Regions from separate parts of the Homo sapiens genome. Here regions 1, 2 and 4 are each linked to region 3. Evidence: promoter capture Hi-C in human tissues and cell types (Jung and others, 2019). All regions are on one chromosome and are shown on one strand. Each heading gives the region's core, a stretch centred on a gene start or on the middle of the fragment in contact. The rest is flanking DNA. Distances are from core to core; before and after follow the strand shown.

The links. Contacts are between HindIII fragments. The study calls those that stand out against the background at their distance.
Region 1: a fragment that was not itself captured here is called in contact with the fragment with the promoter of NAT16 in region 3 in 2 of the 25 tissues and cell types used here (mesenchymal stem cells and pancreas).
Region 2: a contact is called between a fragment that was not itself captured here and the fragment with the promoter of NAT16 in region 3, in 3 of the 25 tissues and cell types used here (bladder, liver and lymphoblastoid cells).
Region 4: the fragment with the promoter of MUC17 here is called in contact with the fragment with the promoter of NAT16 in region 3 in 1 of the 25 tissues and cell types used here (aorta).

Annotation. Positions count from the first base shown.
Region 1 is chr7:100,976,442-100,979,337 of GRCh38, forward strand. The region is part of intron 1 of MUC12 (mucin 12, cell surface associated); the gene reads left to right. Among named protein-coding and RNA genes, the nearest start is that of MUC12, 8.3 kb to the left of the region's middle. The HindIII fragment of the contact is 4,503 bases long and covers 1-2,896 here.
Region 2 is chr7:101,365,421-101,368,516 of GRCh38, forward strand. All of the region lies in intron 1 of COL26A1 (collagen type XXVI alpha 1 chain), which reads left to right. Among named protein-coding and RNA genes, the nearest start is that of COL26A1, 4.1 kb to the left of the region's middle. The HindIII fragment of the contact is 6,055 bases long and covers 1-3,096 here.
Region 3 is chr7:101,178,509-101,181,735 of GRCh38, forward strand. NAT16 (N-acetyltransferase 16 (putative)) reads right to left here and starts at 1,785. Exons shown (of 4, transcript NM_198571.3): 1 at 1,534-1,785. RefSeq lists an enhancer at 1,566-2,288 and a silencer at 1,660-1,954. The HindIII fragment of the contact is 15,471 bases long and covers 1-3,227 here.
Region 4 is chr7:101,018,749-101,021,756 of GRCh38, forward strand. It overlaps MUC17 (mucin 17, cell surface associated), which reads left to right and starts at 1,333. Exons shown (of 13, transcript NM_001040105.2): 1 at 1,333-1,469. The coding sequence starts at 1,388. MUC12 (mucin 12, cell surface associated) reads left to right here. Exons shown (of 12, transcript NM_001164462.2): 12 at 1-188. RefSeq lists a silencer at 1-34 and an enhancer at 84-233. The HindIII fragment of the contact is 20,706 bases long and covers 1-3,008 here.

The sequences.
Region 1 (2,896 bases), core at 208-2,707, 200 kb before region 3:
AAAAATAAAAAAATTAGCCGGGCATGGTGGTGTGTGCCTGTAGTCCCAGCTACTTGGGAGGCTGAGGCAGAAGAATGGCGTGAACCCAGGAAGTGGAGATTGCAGTGAGCTGAGATAGTGCCACTGCACTCCAGCCTGGGCGACAGAGCGAGACTCTTTATAAAAAAAAAAAAATGCAAATATTCATTGAGGGTTTGCTATGTGCTGGACACTTTTATAATATTATCTCATTTAACTTTTACAACATTCCTAAGAAGAAGGATGTGTTACTGATTTTGGGTTTTTATACGTGGGGAAACAGGCACAGAGATGATAAATAATTTGCTCGGTGGGGCGTGGTGTCTCACGCCTGTAATCCCAACACTTTGGGAGGTCAAGGCAGGCAGATCACGTGACATCGGGAGTTCGAGACCAGCCTGGCCAACATGGTGAAACCCCATCTCTACTAAAAGTACAAAAATTAACTGGGCATGGTGGCAGGTTCCTGTAATCCCAGCTACTCAGGAGACTGACGCAGGAGAATCACTTGAACCCTGGAGGCAGAGGTTGCAGTGAGCCGAGATCGTGACACTGCGCTCCAGCCTTGGTGACAGACCAAGACTCCATCTCAAAAAAAAAAAAAAAAAAAAAAAAAAAAAAAAGAAATTGCTCAATACCACCCATTCATCAGTTGGAGGAGTCAGGATTTGAACCTAAGCTTTCCAGCTCCAGGGTCCCCATTTTTTACCACTTGCTATAATTGGGGATGCCTGTGTGTATGTGTTCCCTAGGTCTGCCACAATAAATTAACAAACACTATTGGTGGCTTCAAGCAACATAAATTTATTCTCTTACAGTTGTGGACGCCAGAAGCTTGAAGTCAAGGTCATCATGAGTGCCACATTCCCTTCAAACTCTCTAGAGGAAGATCTCTCCTTGCCTTCTCTAGCTTTTTTTTTTTTTTGAGACGGAGTGTCTTTCTGTTGCCCAGGCTGGAGTACAGTGGTGCGATCTCGCCTCACTGCAACCTCTGCCTCCCGGTTCAAGCAATTCTCCTGCCTCAGCCTTCTGAGTAGCTGGGATTACAGGCACGCGCCACCACGCCCGGCTAAGTTTTGTATTTTTAGTAGAGACGGGGTTTCACCATGTCGGTCAGGCTGGTCTCGAACTCCTGACCTCGTGATCCACCCACCTTGGCCTCCCGAAGTGCTGGGATTACAGGCATAAGCCACCGTGCCTGGCCAGCTTCTTCCTTTTTAAAAAAATGTTTATCTCGTTATTTAGAGGCTGGATTATGAGACTGGCTAATTTTTGTATTTTTTTTTCTTGTAGAGACGGGGTCTTGCTATGTTGCCCAGGCTGATCTCAAACTCCTGGGCTCAAGCAATCCACTGGCCTCGGCCTCTCAAAGTGCTGGGATTACAAGCGTGAGCCACCGTGCCTGGCCAGCCTTTTCTAGCTCCTGTTGACGCCTGGTGTTCCTTGGCTTGTGATAACATCACTCCGATCTCTGCCTCATCGTCTTTGGGCATCTTTCCTGTACGTCACACCTCTCTCTCTTTTCTCTGACAAGTATGCAGATTTAGGGCCCATCCTAAATCTGATCTTGAGATCCTTGACTTAATGACATCTGGAAAGCCCCTGTTTCCAAAGAAGGTCGCGTTCCCAGGTACCAGGAGTTAGGACTTCGAGGATATATTTTGGGGTGATCCTATTCAATGCGCGATACCATGCTTTAGCCTCAACTGGTGGCTCTTGCTTTTAAGAAGCAGTGACAGTGCCTGCTGGCACTAGAAAGCCAAGAAGTCCATCCACCGCCATTGGTGTGTGCAGGGGTTGGGGTGGCCCCAGCTCTATCTCTACCTCTACAACTCAGCCAGGAGCCAATGAGCTTATGTTAAAGGAATAGACCCAGGCTATCTAGCTCTTGTGTGGCAGAGCAGAATGTGCACCTAGAACTGGGGGACCCCAGCTCATCCCAGTGCCTCCCATAACATTGTAGAATATTCTAGAGTGATCAGGGTGGCAAGAACAGGCATCATTTACTCTCATTTTCGAGGGAGAAATGGAAGTTCAGAGAGGTTCGCTGGATTGCACAAGGTCACACAGCGGTGTACAGGTTGGTCTTGGAGACATAGCAAGGACCCTCCCTCCACACCCCGTGGGGGCTCCCCACACTGCCACTGCCTCTTCAGGGGAGCTGCCACTGGGGACTTCATTGACTGATTTTGTCACAAGCAGAAATATGTCCTGGAGGTGGCAGGAGGAGACAGTTTCAAAGCTTGGTGATGGTCTTCAGACTTGTCCTTGAAGAACCTTCTAATGTGTGTCCCCAAGCATGCCACGATGTGAAAGGTTTGCCTGAAAAACCAGCTGCCTTAATTAAATAATAATCTATTTTATTTTAGAGACAGCGTCTTTCTCTGTTGCCCAGGCTGGAGTGCAGTGGCACAATCATAGCTCACTGCAGCCTTGACCTCCTGGGCTCAAGTGAGCCTTCTGCCTCAGCCTCTCAAGTAGCTGGGACTACAGATGTGCACCACCATGCCCAGCTAATTTTTAAATGTTTGTACAGATGGGGGTCTCGCTATGTTTTCCAGGCTGGTCTTGAACTCCTGGCCTCAAGCAAACCTCCTGCCTCAGCCTCCCAAAGTGCTGGGATTACAGGTGTGAGCCATTGTCCCTAACCTTAATCTTTTTAAAGAAAAATCCAAATACATGTGGAATGTAGAAGCAGTAAACACTGTAAATGGGCAAGAAAGGACTCAACTTAATTCATTTAATGAGATACCATGTCATTACTCTCACAGAGAAAAAAGCTACCAAACTTTACCTGCTTAGCAGGAGAGGGAGCTGGCATCTTTAATGACCAGTGGCTGCAATGTAGGCAAATAGGCAATTTTTGTTAAGCATTTTG
Region 2 (3,096 bases), core at 146-2,645, 190 kb after region 3:
TTTTCTGGTTTCTGTGTTTTTTTTGAGACAGAGTCTCGCTCTGTCTCCCAGGCTGGAGTGCAATGGTGCAATCTTGGCTTACTGCAACCTCTGCCTCCCAAGTTCAAGTGATTCTCCTGCCTCAGCCTCCCAAGTAGCTGGGATTACAGGTGCCCACCACTGCGCCTGGCTAATTTTTGTATTGTTGGCCAATAAAAAATGTAACGTTGGCCAGGCTGGTCTCAAACTCCTGGCCTCAAATGATCTGCCTGCCTCAGCCTCCCGAAGTGCTGGGATCACAGGCATGAGCCACTGTGCTTGGTCCCTAAGAGAACCTACTGGCCGGTACGGGGATTGAATGGATGTTTTGCAAGGAGCGTATATTCATGTAATACTTTTGTAATTAAAAGGTGTGGGAAGGAAAAAAAAAAAGGTGTTTGCAGCCTGAAATACGCCTGCAAAAAAGCAAGAGGTGAGGACCATGAAGAGCGGGAGCGAATGGGGACCTCATTCTGGCATTTGGTGGGTTGGAACTTGGGGACATCTGCAGAAACTTGGAAGGGATCATTTTAGCACAAACAAAAAGAGGCTCAAACAAGTGTGGAATCTTCCAGAACTCTTTCCACCAGGATAAGAACAGGGAGAGGATATAATTAGGTTTAGGGAGGATGTGGATGAATCTGTGGGCAATGGATTCCTAAAAAGGATACCAGAAGGTGTTGGGGAGGCTTGGGGCACATTGATATTCCAGAGTGTGACTGAGTCTCTTTGCCCAGAAAGCCCAGCGTGGGCATTGCAGGCACCTGGTTGTTGCCTGGGTGAGTTACAGGCTGGAGCTGGCTTGGGCGTCACATGTTTCTGTGTCTCATGAGCTATCTATCACAAGTGTCCCTTGTCCTTGAGATCCAAGATGTCCAGAAGCTGAAGGCTTGGGGACAGCAGTGGTCCTTGCAGCCTTGGCCTTCAGTAGTGTGTTTACCGGGGCTTGGCTTCAGTTGACAGGCAATGATGACAGGGCTGTTTCTTGACAAAGAGTGCTTTAATTTCATTGTTACTGCTCCTTGTTAACGTCTGATTTTTTTTTTTTTTTTTTTTTTTTTTTTTTTTTTTTTTTTTTTAAAGACAGGGTCTTGCTCTGTCACCCAGGCAGGAGCGTAATGGTGCAATCATAGCTCACTGCAGCCTCGACCTCCTGGGTTCAAGCAATCCTCCCACCTCAGCCTCCTAAGTAGTTGGGACCATAGGCATGGGCCACCATGGCTGGCTAACTTTTAAATTTTTCATAGAGGTGGGGTCCTGCTATGTTGCCCAGGGTGGTCTTGAACTCCTGGCTTCAAGTAATCCTTCAGCTTTGGCCTCCCGAAGTGTTGGAATTACAGGTGTGAGCCACTGTGCCTGGCCAAAAAGCAGTTTTTAATTGTTAGTTTGTTCAAATCAGGATCTAAATAAGTCTGCTTATTGGTTATTCTGTCTTTTCTCTCCCTTTTAGTGTAGGAAAGTCTTCCCCCTTTGAGAGAGTACTTTTTCCTCCACGCTGTTGACTTGTTGAAGACCAGTTGTTCTCTGCGATGTCCACGTACTAGATTTAGCTATTTCCTTCCCAGTGGTGTAGTTAACTTGATCTGCAATGTCCACGTACTAGTTTTGACTAATTGCTTCCCAGTGGTGTAATTAATTGGATCCTCTGCCCCCTGTATCTCTTCTATTTTGGAAGTTAGGTTGGAAGGTTTGATTAGATTTATGGTCTCTATTTGGGCTTGCTGGGAGAGACAGAAATTCTTCATAGGTGGTCTAGTCTACCATATTATATCAGGAGATGCTCTGGACTGATGTGTGTGTCCCCACCAAATTCATATGTTGAAGCCCTATCCTCCAATGTGGTGGTATTTGGAGGGGGGACCTTTGGAGGTAACTAGATTTAGATGAAGTTGTGAGGGCTGTGCCCCATTATTTGATTAGGGATGTTATAAGAACAGGAAGAGAGGCCAGGTGCGGTGGCTCATGCCTGTAATCTCAGCACTTTGGGAGGCCCAGGTGGGTGGATCACCTGAGGTCAGGAGTTTGAGACCAGTCTGGCCAACATGGTGAAAACCCGTGTCTACTAAAAATACAAAAATTAGCCGGGCGTGGTGGTGCACACCGGTAGTCCCAGCTACTTGGGAGGCTGAGGCACTAAAATCGCTTAAGCCCGGGAGGCGGAGGGTACAATGAGCTGAGATCATGCCACTGCACTCCAGCCTGGGCAACAGAGTGAGACTCTGTCTCAAAAAAGAAAAAAAAAAAAAAAAAGAAGAAGAGAAATCAGAGCTCTCTCTCTTTGCCATGTGAGGACACAGCACAGCAAGAAGGTGGCTGTCTGCAAACCAGAAAGAGAACCCTCACCAGGAACTGAATCTGCCAGCACCTTGATCTTAGACTTCCCAGCCTCCAGGGCTATGAGAAATAAATGTCTGCTACTTAAGCCATTCAGTCTGTGGTATTCTGTTACGGCAACCTTGAGCTGACTAACAGAAGGATGTGGCTTTATTCTGGAAAGCTGGGTGTTAAATATTCAGCAGAACACCACTGTCTACAAGTCTCCTCCACTGTCTCCCTTCTTTTTGTTGCAATTTATTTGTTGAAGAAACTTGGCCTTCTAGATTGTTCCTTTTTCAGGATTTTGTTGGTTATATGCTCATGGTGCCTGTGAACATGTTCATCTGTCCTCTTTATTTCCAGATAATGGGAAATTAGATCAAGAGCTTGGTTGGATCTAGTTCTTCCTCCTCCTTCGTTTTCTATTTTGGCAGAATTACATCTTGGGTGCTGTAGTGTTTTTCCATTGGAAATCACAACGTCTGGTTGTCTCTCTTTTTCTCTCGTGATGCTTGAGGTGTTGGTGATCATTGCGTATGTCATTCTTTCATTAAGGATCGCAAAGTGGATGCAAGACAGGCAGGCCCCCAAATTGGGGCTTAGCCAGGAGGGTTCTTGGCTTCACCCAGGAAAGAATTCAAGGGTGAGTGGGTGGTTTCAGACAGCAACTTTAATTGATGTGGCAGTGTACAGCTGCAGCAGAGGTCCTGCTCCTTGCAGAGCAGGGATACCCCATAGGCAGTGTGCCCAGACTAGCAGCTC
Region 3 (3,227 bases), core at 535-3,034:
GGTGAGTCCAGGGCACTGTCAGAAATGTAGTCCAGGTATCTCCTGGACCAAGCGCCCTCCTAAAAGAGGGACAGCATTTCTTGGCCGGGCGTGGTGGCTCATGCCTATAATCCCACCACTTTGGGAAGCCAAGGGAGGCGGATCATCTGAGGTCAGGAGTTGGAGACCAGCCTGACCAACATGGAGAAACCCTCTCTCTACTAAAAAAAAAAAAAAAAAAAAAAAATACAAAAGTAGCCGGGCGTGCTGGCGCATTCCTGTAATCCCAGCTACTCAGGAGGCTGAGGCAGGAGAATCGCTTCAACCCGGGAGGCCGAGATTGTGGTGAGCCGAGATCACGCTATTGCACTCCAGCCTGGGCAACAAGAGTGAAACGCTGTCAAAAAAAAAAAAAAAAAAAAAGAGGAATAACATTTCTCTCTTCATGTCTATCCCCACATCCTTGGGGACATTCTTTAAATCTCATAAATATGAATGATCTCTTTGGGGAGGGGGTGATCAGAGTCATAGCTGGGCATGATCGGAGTCAGAGCTGGGAATGCCGGCAGCCCACCCACCCGCACCCCACTCCCACCACACCCCACACACCTGAAATATCGATGCCCTTGAGGCCGATGGCTTCTTGACACTGGGGGAGGGAGGAGAGGGAGGGAAGGGAGAGCCCAGTCGCCGGAGAGGCGGAGACAAAGAAGGCAGCTGCACAAAGCGCCCAAAGATGAGAGCGAAAAGGACGGGAATGGAGGCAGAGAGCAGACAAAAGCGGACAGGAGATGCGGCCGCAGGGGACAGGCAGGGAAGCCGGAGGAGGCTTCGACACCGAATCACAGACATGACACCTCGTGACTCTGGGCCCAGCAGATGAAAAAAAAAAAATCCTAGCACGCACCCCCTCCCCTGGGACACTGTAAATAGAAAGCAGCGTGACACACCCCCTTCGCCCCGGGGTATGGGGGGCGGGGATCCGTGGAGGGGAAGGGGTCAAGGGGAAAAGAAAGTCAGAAAAAAGGCCGTAAGAGAACAACCTTGGAAACAGAGACGGGGAGAGGCGATGAAGTGGGGGCGGGAGAGAAGGCCTAGGGGGTGGGCAGAGGCAGGGGCCGAGGAAGATGGCCCAGCCAAAGGGGGTGGGGGGAGGGCCCCAGAGGGCCACAGTAGTGGAGAAGGGGGGGCTGTCCTGCAGGGTCTTCCCGAGTGAGGGTCTTCCCTCTGCCTCTACCCCGGATTGGGGGCTTGGGCTTGGGGGAGAGGGAGATTGCAAAGGGAGCGATCTGCTTGGCGGGGGTTCCCCTGGGCGCCGGACCCTGGGGACAGGTGGGAGCGACATGGCAACAGAGGGGGGCGGGGGAGCGCTTCTGGACACCTGAAGCGCAGCCTCTGACTCAGTTTTCTGGGTCTTCGGACTGGGAGGGGCTGGGCAGAAGGGGGCGCAGCCGCTTGGTCCCCCTGAGGGGCGGTGGCCTTCTGCTGCCCCATTCTGCGGTGGAGGAGCACGCTAGCCCCCTCCCCAGTCCCCAGGCCCGGCCGCCCCCCTACCTCGCCGGAGCCGGAGCTGGAGCCAGGGCCGAGATGCCGCAAAGCCAAGCGGGGCGGGCGGCGGGCGCAGACACCCCCGGTGCCAAGAGAGAGGTCCCTTTGGAGCCCCCAAGAGTCAAAGGAGGATGACGCGCGGGGACTCGGCCGCGCTGTCGGAGCCCGACTCTAACGTCGGTCAGCGCTGGGGCAGCGCCGCAGCTCCGTTGGCGACGCGGGCCGGGGCGCCCATCGGTTCAGGGGTTCGGGTGGCACGCGTGGCTCCCCCGGCGACGCTCCGGCGGCAGCTTCGAGGGGCGGAGACCCCGGCGACGCGGAAGAAACCCGGGACGGATCCGGAGCGGACTCGTGCCCTGCTGGCGGGGCCGGGGGTCGGGGTGCGCCCTGGGCAGCTGGGTGGCCTCAAGCCCTACTGGCGAGACTCCGCCCTGTGTCCCGGCTGGGGAGTGGGACTGAGGATGGTGGTGTCTCGGGTTTTGGTGGTGGTGATGCTGGTGTTGCTGGCTTAGTTATCTCCCCACCCCACGCCCAGCACCTCCGTTCTCTGTCCGGGGGTCCCCCACTGCCCTGAAGTACCCCTCCTCCAGGAGCCACCCCTCAATGGAATCTCCTCTCTCCATTATAAGAGCGGCTGGGAAGGGGACTCCGAGCCTTCGTCCCCGGAAACTGATAGAGGGAATCAGAAACCCTAGAACACCGGGAAGGCGAAGAGACATCAAGAGACAGAAGTTGAAAGGCTGAAAAGGGCAGAGGGAGGCCAAGATCTCTCCATCTTCTCACCACTGCGTGGGTGCCTGAGCACCCTGGTTCCCCGGGTGCACAAGGCCCCTAAATCCACAATGTACCCCACGGGACAGCAGGCAGAAAGACCTCCAGGTACACAGCGCACACCCAGGCACATTCACACAGACCTCTGCACTCAGGAGGCGCTGCACCCCACGCTGATCCTGGTGGCTGGGGAGGAAGAGGGAAGTGTGGAGCTGGGACCCGGGTGGGTGCAGCGCTGCCCCTGCTCTAATAAGGCGGTGGCCCAGGCTCTTAACTCCTACAAGGTTCTCCATCCCACCTATAAAGTGAGCTCAAGACTGGGTGCGGTGGCTCAAGCCTGTGATCCCAGCACTTTGGGAGGCCGAGGCGGGGGAATCACTTGAGGTCAGGAGTTCGAGACCAGCCTGGCCAACATGGTGAAACCCCGTCTCTACTAAAAATACAACAATTAGCCTGGCCTGGCCGGGCACGGTGGCTCATGCCTGTAATCCCAGCACTCTGGGAGGCCGAGGTGGGAGGATCACCTGAGGTCAGGAGTTCAAGACCAGCATGGCCAACATGGCGAAACCCCGTTTCTACTAAAAATACAAAAATCAGCCGGGCACAGTGGCCTGCACCTGTAATCTCAGCTACTTGGGAGGCTGAGGCAGGAGAATCGCTTGAACCCGGGAGGCAGAGATTGCAATGCGCCGAGATCGTGCCACTGCACTCCAGCCTGCGCGGCAGAGCGAGAATCCAACTCAAAATAAAATAAAATAATAAATAAAGTGAGATCAGAACACCTTCAGTTCTACCCTGTAAGGAGCCAGGAAAGTGATGGACAAAGCCCTTTAGCAACTGTAAACTGCTTTGGAGATGCAGGGAATAATTTTTTTTTTTTTTTTTTGAGAGGAGTCTCACTCTCGCCTAGGCTGGAGTGCAGTGGCGCG
Region 4 (3,008 bases), core at 83-2,582, 160 kb before region 3:
CCGGTCCTGCTCTGAGCTGACAGACTTGGCCAGTCCCCTGCCTGTGCTCCTGCTGGGGAAGGCTGGGGGCTGTAAGCCTCTCCATCCGGGAGCTTCCAGACTCCCAGAAGCCTCGGCACCCCTGTCTCCTCCTGGGTGGCTCCCCACTCTGGAATTTCCCTACCAATAAAAGCAAATCTGAAAGCTCAGAATGAGAAGTGAGAGGTTTCCTTCTCCTCCTTCTGCAGTTGGGGTCAGGTTAGGGGTCAGAGCCCTCCTGGGATGGGATTTCTCCCAGGACTGGCTGCTGAATGGGGCATGGAACGAATGCTCTGGGCCCCTTCCTGTGTCTTTGCAGGGAGCCCCCTCCCCGGCTCCAGTCAGGACAGGTCTAGGCCTGCCTCTGCTGAGGTCCCTGTGGCAGAAAAGCCTAATGTCAGGTTCTGGGGACAGGAGAGGACCTCAGATTCAACCCCAGTTGGCCAGGGAGTGAGCACTTGGCTCTGCTGAGCTTGCACAAGGCAGGGTCACTCCAGATGGCCATGGGAGCTGTGCTTACCTCGGAACCCACAGACCAAACCCAAGAACTCCCTGCCCAGGCATGGCCATGTCTTCAGGGCATACTCATAGGACAATAAGAAGGGTTATTTTATTTATTTATTTTTGCCGAGACAGAGTCTTGCTCTGTTGCCCAGGCTGGAGTACGGAGGCACGATCTTGGCTCTCTGCAACCTCCGCCTCCCAGGTTCAAGCGATTCTCCTGCCTCAGCCTCCTGAGTAGCTGGGATTACAGGCGCCCGCCACCAAGTCTGGCTGATTTTTGTATTTTTAGTAGAGATGGTGTTTCATCATGTTGGCCAGGTTGGTCTCAAACTCCTCATCTCAAGTGATCTTCCCGCGTCAGCCTCCCAAAGTGCTGGGATTACAGGTGTGAGCCACCATACCCGGCCAATAAGAAGGGTTAGAAAAGAGACAAAGGGGGTGTCCCTGCTAGGGGTTAGGGTCAAATGCAGGTGGTACCCTCCTCCTTTCCCAGCTCAGGCCCAGTCCCTCTTGCCCATCTCCCACCACCCTCGGTCGGGGGATCTCATCAGTTCCCCCCTGGCTCCTACAGGCCCTCTGGGCTGCCCCTCTGTTGGGGTGATAAAGCTGATAACCCTCATGCCTATGGGCTGCCGGGCCAGGGAGAGGCACCCCCTCCCTCTGCCCTTTGGCCTGAAACAGGCCCTGCGCCCCAAGTCATGAGGGAAGCTTCCAGACTGACTCAGGCTCAGGCTGGCCCCTGATCCCCAGTGTCTCAGGGACCAAAGGTCTCTGGCACCCATTTATTTATCAGTTTCCTTCTCTGAGGCTCATTTCGCCAGCTCCTCTGGGGGTGACAGGCAAGTGAGACGTGCTCAGAGCTCCGATGCCAAGGCCAGGGACCATGGCGCTGTGTCTGCTGACCTTGGTCCTCTCGCTCTTGCCCCCACAAGCTGCTGCAGAACAGGGTGAGTGACCCCCACGCCCCGCTGCCCAAGAGGCCCCCATCCCAGGGGCCAGCCTGCTCTGTCTGCCCATCCCCGAGGGAGAGCTGCCTCCAGGACACCAATAGGGGTGTGCCCTCTGCCTGGAGCTCAGCCCTGTGCCTACCCCCTGGACTTCTCTTCTCTCCCCAGCGAGCTTTGGGGGAAGAGCCAGGGCATTGGAGCCTCTTCCAGTTGAGGTCTCTGAGCCTTAGTTTCCCCTTCCGAGCCTCAGTCTCCCCTCCGGAAAGTAAGAATAATAACACCTGCTTTTCAGGGCAGCTGCTAGGATTGAAAAGAGCTCCCCCCCCGAGGCATGATCCCTGGCACAAGACTGGTGTTCAACCCATATTAGAGTCTATCCTTACCCAGTGAATGTTCCCGCCAAGTCCCTGTCACCTCCCACACCAGCACACCCTGCTGTGTGCCCCAGGAATGTTTCCGGGACATAGCCACATGGGCACAAAATGGCGTTTCAGGAGCCCCAGATTCTAATCCTGCCATGAACCAGCTGTGCACCCTGGGGCCGCTCAGTTCATCTCCTGCCTCAGTCTCCCCAAAAGACAAGGCATTAGGACCTCTGAGGATCATTCCAGCTCAGCCGCTTTGGGCTTCATGGCCACAGGGACCCCGGGGGGCTCAGAGCAGGAGGGATGACAGTGGGTTCCAGCTGGACTCTCTGGGAGCTCCCTCTGCCCCTCACCTGCCCCCAGAGAAGGGCGCAGGGGAACCAAGACAGAAACTGGACCCATAGACCTCAGGGTCCCTGCCCCTCGAGATGTCACCCTGTGGCAATCTCACCCAGATCTGCCAGCCCATTCGTTGTAATGAAAACACTCCTTTCCTTGCACTTTCTGTGCCTTCCAGACCCTTGGTGATGTATCTCTAATAACAGCATCTTAGACATGATCTTTTGTTTTCCTCCCCAACCCTCACCTCTGTCTCCTCCTTTTTTTTTTTTTTTTTTTTTTGAGACGGAGCCTCGCTCTGTCACCCAGGCTGGAGTTCTGTAGCGTGATGTCAGCCCACTGCAACCTCTGCCTCCCGGGTTCAAGCGATTCTCCCGCCTCAGGCTCTTGAGTAGCTGGGATTACAGCCACATGCCACCATGCCCAGCTAGATTTTGTATATTTTTAGTAAGGACAGGGTTTCACCATGTTAACCGGGCTGGTCTCAAACTCCTGATCTCAGGTAGTCCTCCCACCTTGGGCTCCCAAAGTGCTGGGATTACAGGGGTGAGCCACCGCTCCTGGCCCCCTCCTTTCTTTCTCTCTGCTCCTCCCTTCCCTCTTCCTGGGTTCTTCTAGCCCCTTCCTTCCCCCTCTCTTCTCTTTCTTCTTCTCCCCACCTCTCCTTGGCCCCTTCCTGGCCTCTCCCCACTTTCTGCGTGTTATCATTGATTTCATCCCTAGCCTCAGTCTGCCTTTGTAGAATGTGACTTCTCAGACCCTGTTCCTACTCTCCAGGATTCTGTGGCTCCTCCGTCTCTGTGCCTGGCATTGGCTGTCCTTTGGGACCCTGGCC